3 separate regions of the Homo sapiens genome follow, and all the other regions are linked to region 2. Evidence: promoter capture Hi-C in human tissues and cell types (Jung and others, 2019). All regions are on one chromosome and are shown on one strand. The core of a region is centred on a gene start or on the middle of the fragment in contact, and the rest is flanking DNA. Distances in the headings are between cores, read along the strand shown.

Evidence for each region. The method cuts DNA at HindIII sites, captures the fragments that hold promoters and counts their contacts. A contact is called where the count stands out against the background at its distance.
Region 1: the fragment with the promoter of TCF25 here is called in contact with the fragment with the promoter of ZNF778 in region 2 in 1 of the 25 tissues and cell types used here (mesendoderm cells).
Region 3: the fragment with the promoter of FANCA here is called in contact with the fragment with the promoter of ZNF778 in region 2 in 2 of the 25 tissues and cell types used here (lymphoblastoid cells and mesendoderm cells).

The regions. Positions count from the first base shown.
Region 1 is chr16:89,872,321-89,875,321 of GRCh38, reverse strand. TCF25 (TCF25 ribosome quality control complex subunit) reads right to left here and starts at 1,730. Exons shown (of 18, transcript NM_014972.3): 1 at 1,463-1,730. The coding sequence starts at 1,654. It overlaps LOC112268179 (a long non-coding RNA gene), which reads left to right and starts at 1,834. Exons shown (of 2, transcript XR_002957933.2): 1 at 1,834-2,354. RefSeq lists silencers at 946-1,415, 1,886-2,005 and enhancers at 2,086-2,245, 2,016-2,972. The HindIII fragment of the contact is 23,130 bases long and covers 140-3,001 here.
Region 2 is chr16:89,216,211-89,219,036 of GRCh38, reverse strand. It overlaps ZNF778 (zinc finger protein 778), which reads right to left and starts at 1,334. Exons shown (of 7, transcript NM_001201407.2): 1 at 1,127-1,334. It overlaps ZNF778-DT (ZNF778 divergent transcript), which reads left to right and starts at 1,384. Exons shown (of 1, transcript NR_186410.1): 1 at 1,384-2,826. RefSeq lists enhancers at 1-447, 448-978, 1,503-1,552, 2,502-2,796. The HindIII fragment of the contact is 6,098 bases long and covers 1-1,906 here.
Region 3 is chr16:89,815,318-89,818,061 of GRCh38, reverse strand. It overlaps FANCA (FA complementation group A), which reads left to right and starts at 1,415. Exons shown (of 43, transcript NM_000135.4): 1 at 1,415-1,525; 2 at 2,076-2,185. The coding sequence starts at 1,447. RefSeq lists enhancers at 752-801, 1,187-1,481 and silencers at 1,342-1,631, 1,862-1,911. The HindIII fragment of the contact is 15,845 bases long and covers 1-2,744 here.

The DNA.
Region 1 (3,001 bases), core at 481-2,980, 660 kb before region 2:
AAGGCAAAGATATAAACAGGTTGTCACAAAGAGAAATATAAATGGTCAACGAATACATAGCTAGGTGCTGCATTTCACTACCAAAGAAGTGTAAAATAAAATAATGTGATATCATTTTTCACAAATTACATTGACAAAAATTTAAAAAGACTTACGGGGCCAAGCACAGTGGCTCATGCCTCTAATGCCAACACTCTGAGAGGCCAAGGTGAGAGGACTATTTGAGCCCAGGAGTTCAAGGTTGCAGTGAGCTAGGATTGTGCCAATGCACTCCAGCCTGGGCAACAGAGCAAGATTCCATCTCAAAACAAAAAGCTTTCAGTAACTGCTGTGAATCTAGCAAATTACTGAACCTTGACGGGGGTCTTGGGGACCACTAAAGGTGGACTTGATGCGAGAAGGGCAGTCAACCAAGCATGGTGACTCACGCCTGTAGTCCCAGCACTTTGTGAGGCTGAGGTGGACAGATTGTTTGAGCGCAGAAGTTCTAGACCAGCCTGGGCAACAAGGCGAAAACTCTTCTCTACAAAAAAGAAAAAAAAAAAAAATTAGCCGGGCGTGGTGACATCCACCTGTAGTCCTAGATACTCAGGAGGCTGAGGTGGGAGGATCGCAGAGCCCGCAGAGGCAGAGTTACAGACGGAGGCCAGGGCTTAGGAGAAAACGTCACAGGACCGCATGAGCAAACCATACAGTCAAACTGTTACTTCCCTGTGCCAGAAACGAGCTGCCGGAGATGCAGCAAAGAGTAAGACTAATCCGCTGGGTTAGGCTGATGGGGATGCGCGAAGAGCAAGGCCCTGGGTTAGGCAGAGTTGTTGTGAGGATTAAAGCAGAATGCTCGCAGAGGCCTGGCAAGTCCTCAACCCTGGAACCGAGAGAAGGCCCCTCTAGACTCGAGAAAGGGAAGCCCCACCCGACTCCTGCCCCTACGCCGTGGCCCCACCCCCACGGTGGCCCCAGGCCTCATTTAACCCCGCCCACGCCATCGCCTCGCCACCCCCCCGTCTTTAGCCACGCCCTTTAGCGTCACGGCCCCACGACAGCCACGTGGCCGCAGGCCCATTTAATCCCGCCCACGTCGTGGCCCGGCCCCGCGGACGTTGGCCACGCCCTTGGCATCAAGGCCCCGCACCCTCCACAACCCGGACCCCGCTTAACCCCGCCCATTCGGTCGCCCCGCCCCGACAGCACGGCCCCGCCCCATCCCTTAGCCCCGCCCACCTCACCGGGGTTAGAACCCAGTCTAACTCCGCGGCCCGCCGTCTTCACCCCACGCCACCGCCCACCCGCGTCGCCCTGGCCCCGACGCACGGCCCCGCCCTCCCCACTGCGGCTGGGACCCACGTCACCCTTCCCACCCCTGGCATCACAACCCCGCTCCCCGACCCGGCTGGACGCTCGCCCCGCCCCACAACGTCAAGGGCCACCCCACCCCCACCCGGGCCGCCGCGCTCCTCACCAGCTCGAAGCGGTTGTTGACTCGGACGCCCTCCTTCCCTGCGCCCCCGGGACGCCGGACACCAAGCTCCCGCTTGGGCCCTTCTTCTTCCGCGTCATCGTCATCACGGAGATCGAAATGCAAGGCGCCGGGCCCGAGGGGCTCCTGGCCGCGCTGTTCCCCCCTCAGCCTCCGGAGGGCCCGGCGCGACATAGGACCGAACGACCACGACGTCTGGAGAGAGGGAGAAGGAAGCGCAGAAAACTCGGCTGTCGGCGCGCCTGCGCACTCTTCGCGCGGGGTCGGGGGCGGGGGAGCTGGCTGCGCGCCTGCGCACTCTTGGCGCGAGGGGTGGGGGCAGGACCTGGCTGCGGCGCCTGCGCGTCGCGGCTCTCCGGAACTTTCCCGCTTCAGCGGCGGCGTCTGGGCGGGCTCCGGGGGGTCCGGGCCAGGTCTCTGGAGAGCTGGGTGTCTGCGCGCCGTGCGCACCGGGCATGGAGAGGTGCCCCGCGGGGATGACGGGCTTCGATTCGGGGTAACGGGCGCGCAGCCGGCGACAGTCGGCCCTGCCCGGCCTTGCCCATCCATGTGGCCCGGAACCCGCAGCCGCGTTCTGCCCGCCGGGGCCTGTCCCCGCACCGTGCCTGCAGCATTTCAGCTGCGTCCCGGACGTTGCTAGTTGGTCCTTTTCGTGTCAGGGTGTCATTCGAGTGATCTAGCCGTCGATGCCCGCCTCTGCCCTGGAGCCGCCGCCCCTCGAGCAGCATTGAGTGACGCGGCCCTTACTGCCCGCCCGAGGCCTCTTTAGGGACAGTGGTTCTGACAGTTCTAGGACAGGCCGCCCGCGTTTGTCACGATCTAAGGGCCGGGCGCGGTGCTCACGCTTGTAATCCCAGCACTTTGGGAGGCCAAGGTGGGCGAATCACCTGAGGTCGGGAATTCGAGACCAGGTTGGGCAACACGGTGAAACTCCCTCTACTAAAAATACAAAAATTAGCTGGGCGTGGCTGCGCACGCCTGTAATCCCAGCTACTCGGGAGGCTGAGGCTGCAGTGAGCCGAGATCGCGCCACTGCACTCCAGCCTGGGCGACAGAGCCAGACCCTGTCTCAAAAAAATGAAAAAAATAAAGTAGATGAGGCTGAGACAGTGCTGGGTTCAGTGGGCGGAGGGCACAGCTTCCTGTGCCTGGGGTTGGGGACATGGGGACAGGAGGGCATAGAGAAGACAGGTGCCAGCAGCCTCCTGCCCGACTTACTGCGGCTTCATGAGCACAAGCAGCAGCCCTGGTGAGCCGGCCTGGCCCCTCCCAGGATGGGTTAGGGTTTTATTTTATTTTGTGAGATGAGGTCTTGCTCTGTTGCCCAGGCTGGAGTGCAGTGGCGCAATCTCGGCTCACTGCAACCTCCATCTCCCAGGCTCAAGCACTTCTCCTGTCTCAGCCTCCCGAGTAGCTGGGACTACAGGCATGTGCCACCATGCCCGGCTAATTTTTGTACTCAGTAGAGATGGGGTTTCACCATGTTGGCCAGGCTGGTCTCGAACTCCTGACCTCAAGTGA
Region 2 (2,826 bases), core at 85-2,584:
CACCCAGGTTCAAGCGATTCTCCTGCCTCAGCCTCCCGACTAGCTGGGATTACAGGCATGCGCCACCATGCAAGGCTAATTTTGTACTTTTAGTAGAGACGGGATTTCTCCATGTTAGTCAGGCTGGTCTTGAACTCCCGACCTCAGATGATCCACCCGCCTCGGCCTCCCAAAGTGCTAGGATTACAGGCGTGAGCCACTGTGCCCAGCGGACCTTATTATTTTTAATTATTATTATTATTTTTTGAGACGGAGTCTCGCTCTGTCGCCCAGGCTGGAGTGCAGTGGCGCCATCTCGGCTCACTGCAAGCTCCGCCTCCCGGGTTCACGCCATTCTCCTGCCTCAGCCTCCAGAGTAGCTGGGACTACAGGAGCCCGCCACCACGCCCGGCTAATTTTTTGTATTTTTAGTAGAGATGGGGTTTCACCGTGTTAGCCAGGATGGTGTCGGTCTCCTGACCTCGTGATCCACCCGCCTCGGCCTCCCAAAGTGCTGGGATTACAGGCGTGAGCCACCGCGCCCGGCCTAATTTTAATTTTCTTAGATGAAATACTAATATTGTGGTTTCAGTAGGATAATGTCCTTACCCTTAACAGACGCTTTACCAAGTATTTAAAGGTTAAGTATCATGTGTGCAGTTTAATTTCAACTTACTTACACTCAAATAATAATTCACCGTAAGGTTTATTTATTGGGGGAGAGAGAAAACATGGCCCAAAGCTAAAAAGGAGTAAAACGATTGCAGTGGATATTCCTTGTAGCAGATGTTCACATTTTTATTAGATTCAGATTTTCTAAAGCAAAACGTGAGAAAAAATACAGTTAGTCGAAACACACTGTTCACCGTGGATTCGATTACTCCAAGACCAGCGGGACAACGGCCGCATCCCTCCCGCCCCGAGGGCCGGGCCTGGAAGTCCCGGCGGCGAGGGACGCGCGCTCCCGCTGGCCCCCACGGGCTAACTTTCACAGGGAGCTGCACGCCCGGGGCGCTCAGGGGTCTACCTTACGCTTCGGTCCCAACACAATGTGCCAGAAACAAATAAAAAACGTCAAAGCCGAAGCCAGATTCTCACAGAAACACGCCCTGTTCAAAGTGAAGGAAGCAAAGGGCCCCTCTCTCACCAGCTCCGCGGAATGGAAGCGCTGCCCGGGTCTACCGCGAGCGGCGGCGACTTTCCCTTCTGGAAGCGGTGCCGGGGGCGCAAGGCGCGAGGCAGGCGGGCGGGCGCCCACTCCCGGACCAGCTTCCCCGCGGACAGCCCGAGGACACGCGCGGAACTCTCCGGCGCCAGCACGCACCGCCGCAAGAACCGGATCAGCTGTAAGACAGGCGGAGGCGGGGCCGGCGCCGGAAGAGGGGCCGGCGCGTCTTTGGCGTCACTTCCGCCTCCAGCCTCCGGGCCGAAGCTTTGGCCTATGGTGCGGGGAGGTAGTAGTTTCTTCCGCGAGGGTGCGGGAGGGCCCCGGGGCGCCCTTGGGAACCGGGCTGGAGGCAGAGACAGGCCCGGAGGACCAGGCGGACGTAAGGATCAGGCCTCTGGACGCAACTGCGGAGCCGGAACAGACCAGGAGGGCGCGGTTGGGCGGGTACAGCCAGGAAGTGCTCGTCGCGAGCGCGGCCCGCGGTTCGGTCACAGCGAGAAGCCCGCGGGTGCTGGGAGTGCTCGGTCTTCTCTCGATCTCTGCAGGGAGTCACTGGCCCCGTTCCTTTTTATCTGTCTGAACATCACGCCGAACTTTTAACAGTTGATTCCACTGCATTTTCAATGTGGTATTTTTTTTTTCTGTAAATGTTCATCTATTTTTCGCTTCAAATATGCGTTTCTGTTACTTTTCTAATGTACCGTAGGAGCCAAGACCACCTATACTACGTTGCAAAATAGCACTGATACCAGGGGTTCTCCCAAGGTTCATTCAGAAATGTCACATGATTCCAGTAACAATACGAAAAGGTTTTTTTTTTGGAACCAGGCATATTGATCCTGGAGTTCACATGGAGGAACAAATGTCTCATAACGCAGACGACGCGGACAAACAAAAGCGCAATGCCCGACAGATGCGAAAACAGCCTCTGTCATTAAAACTGTGTGCTAGTGACACATGAACAGGAAACAAATGGAATATCCAGACATCAACCCAGTAACATGGAAATTTGGTTCATAAACATAATTTCAGAGCGGTGGAACAAACATGCAGTTTATAATGAAAGGTGCTAAGACAAATGGTTAGCCGTCTGAGAAATGATGAAATTAATTCTGGATCTCACAGGGATAAACTCCAAACGGATCAGGAGTCTAAATGTGAAAAACAAAACAAAACCACATGTGAAGTGTTCACGTGATTTCGTGGCTGATTAAGAAACAAGATGTGCCCAGGAGGTGGCGGTGGCGCACAAGCTTTGACAGGTTGGAGGGTGAGGGAGTCTCACGCACCATGAGATTACCCACAGGCTTCGAATTGGGGGTCACTACTCAGAAAAGAGAAAAAAATGAGCGTGGGCGGGGGGCGCGCAGAGAACTCCCAGAGAAGAAGGAGATCAGACAGGGGGAGGGCTGACGTGACTAGATCACGTTTCTCAGCAGCCTGACAGGTGTCTGAGTCACAAAGCTCTGAAGGGCAGCAACGGCTTGCAGTCTTTAGAGCCCCAGGATTTATCTTATCTATGGCTAGCAGAGATTGGACACAATTTCACGAAGTATACAAAGCAACCACATGCTAAATGGTTCAACACTATGAGTGTTTGGGATGTGTTTTATTTATTATTTATTAATTTTGATACGGAGTCTCCCTCTGTCGTCCAGGCTGGAGTGCAGTGGCACGAT
Region 3 (2,744 bases), core at 166-2,665, 600 kb before region 2:
ATTTAAATTTCCAGCCTGTTTCAATTTCTCGATCACCTCTGAGTCTAGTCCTGTTAATTGCTTAGTGTTATTTTTTGTTTTTGAAACAGGGTCTTGCTCTGTTGCCCAGGCTGGAGTGCAGCGGCGCGATCTCAGGCTGTTCCCTGAGTTCACACCATCCCCCTCAACCAGCAGATTGCAAAGTGTCCGAGTCGGGCCGTGCAGGAGTCTTTGTGGGGGTTTCATGGACTCCGAATTCTCATTTCTGCTCCATCCCCATCTCATGAATCCAAGGCCCCACTCTGTGCCTCGGCTCTTCGTTTGTGGTGCTGAACGTCATCTACGTCATCTACGCCATCTACGTAATCAACACAATAAAGACGCCTGCCGGGAACGCGGCCCTTCGGCTGAATCCCTTCGGTGGTTCCAAGGCCACTGCCAGAGGATGCGGACGGGTCTCCAGGGCCTCTACTTACCCAGGACTTTGAGGCACATTAGCTTCGCCTAGGCACTCGCTTTTACGAATTCTTATGTTTGGTTTTGTTTTGAGACAGAGTCTCGCTCTGCCGCCCAGGCTGGTTAAAAGATAGGGTCTCAGCCGGGTGCGGTGGCTCACGCCTGTAATCCCAGCACTTTGGGAGGCCGAGGCGGGCGGATCACCTGAGGTCCGGAGTTCGAGACTAGCCTGGGCCAACATGGCGAAACGCTGTCTCTACTAAAAATAACAAAAATCATCCAGGCGTGGTGGCGCGCACCTGCAATCCCAGCTACTCGGGAGGCTGAGGCAGGAGAATCACCTGAACCCAGGAGGCAGACGTTGCAGTGAGCCGAGATCGCGCCACTGCACTCCAGCCTGGGCGACAGAGGGAGACTCCGTCTCAAAAAAAGGAAAAAAAAAAAAAAGAAAAGAAACAAAAGTGATGGGGTCTCGCTCTGTTGCCCAGGCTAGTCTGGAATTCCTGGGCTCAAGCGACCCTCCAGCCTCGGCCTCCCAAAGCGCTGGGAATACAGGCGCGGCTACCGCGCGGTCTCCGGCTGCCGAAACACCGCCCTGCGCGCGGACCGTTCGGCCGCCGGGAGGAACAGCGGCTGCCCGGAGCTCAGAGGCGCGCGCGGCTTTGCGCTCCCCGCGGCGCTCTGAGCCTGCCTCGGCTTGGTTGGCCAGGTGGTCTCTTCAGGACCAACCCCAGTCATTCCCGGCAGGAACCACGCTTGAGGGGCGGCAGTCTGCCCGCGCGAGACGCCCCCGCGGACTACACCGCGGCGGCAAAGCCAAACGCAAAAACTACCTCACCGCGCGCAGGCGCCTCCCCCAGGACCAACATGGCCACGACGCAAGGCCTCGACCTGAGGGGCGTGGCCTGGCCGCCGCCAGCCAACGGGTGTGCGCGCCTGGCCGCAGCCAATAGGAAGGCAGCGCGGGCTCGGGCGCAGGGAGCCGCCGCCGGGGCTGTAGGCGCCAAGGCCATGTCCGACTCGTGGGTCCCGAACTCCGCCTCGGGCCAGGACCCAGGGGGCCGCCGGAGGGCCTGGGCCGAGCTGCTGGGTAGGTGGGCGCGGCAGGCCGCGGGAGTGGGCGGCGTCCGGCCCGGGACGGTTTCGCCGGTTCCCCGATCCCTTCCCGCCAGAGCCTCCGCCGGTCGGATCCCCGGACGCCGCGCCCGGGGGGCTGTGCGGGGTGGGCGCCCGGCTGGGGCGGCGCGGCTGCCTCGGACCCGGCCCCTCCTGCGCCTGGGCGGACGCCCCCAGCCGCCGCCCGCGGGGCGCTCCCTTCTTTCCCGAACGCCGCCCCCGCCGGCCGCCCTGTCAGGCGGGCCTGGGGTGCGCGGCCTGGGGCTCCCCTCAGCGCAGAGGCCGCCCCTCGCCAGCCGTCCCCGGGCTCCCCTGCCTCGGGCCCTCCTGGGCCGTCTTCCCCGGCGTCCGCGGTGGGGCCGTCTCCGTTAGTTTCCCGAGACCTGCGCCCTGGGGAGGAGCCCCGGCCCCTCTTCGGGAGGGTGTCGCTGGTGGGTTTCTCCGCGGCGTCCACCTGCGCGTCGGGCCGGGGACCCCGTGTGTGAATTGTGCTGTGATGGTTTCGAACCGACTTCTCTCCGTAGCGGGAAGGGTCAAGAGGGAAAAATATAATCCTGAAAGGGCACAGAAATTAAAGGAATCAGCTGTGCGCCTCCTGCGAAGCCATCAGGACCTGAATGCCCTTTTGCTTGAGGTAAGAGGAAGCTGGTGTCCGTCTGCGGGCAGATTTAGGTTCGGGGTTTTTGAGTCCAGCCACCGCACAGCTTTCCTAAGAAAACACCCGAGGCGGCGGGCGCGGTGGCCTGGCCCGCAGAGGGGAGGGTCGCCTGAGCCCGGGAGTTCTGGACCAACCTGGGCAACGGGGTGAGACCCCGCCTCTTTTATTAAAAACAAAACAACAACAACAAAAAAACAGGCCGGGCGCCGTGGCTCAGGGCTGTAATCCCAGCTTTTGGGGAGGCCAAGGCGGGTGGATCACTCAGGGTCAGGAGTTCGAGACCAGCCTGGCCAACATAGTGAAACCCGGTCTCTACTGAAAATACAAAAATTAGCTGGGTGTGGTGGCGCACGCCTTTAATCCCAGCTACTCGGGAGCCTGAGGCAGGAGAATTGCTTGAACCTGGACCCGGGAGGCAGAAATTGCAGTGAGCCGAGATCACGCCCCTTGCAATCCAGTCTGGATTACAGAGTGAGACTGTCTCACAAAAAAAAAAAAAAAAAAAAAAAAAAAAAAAGCCGGGCGTGGTGGCTCA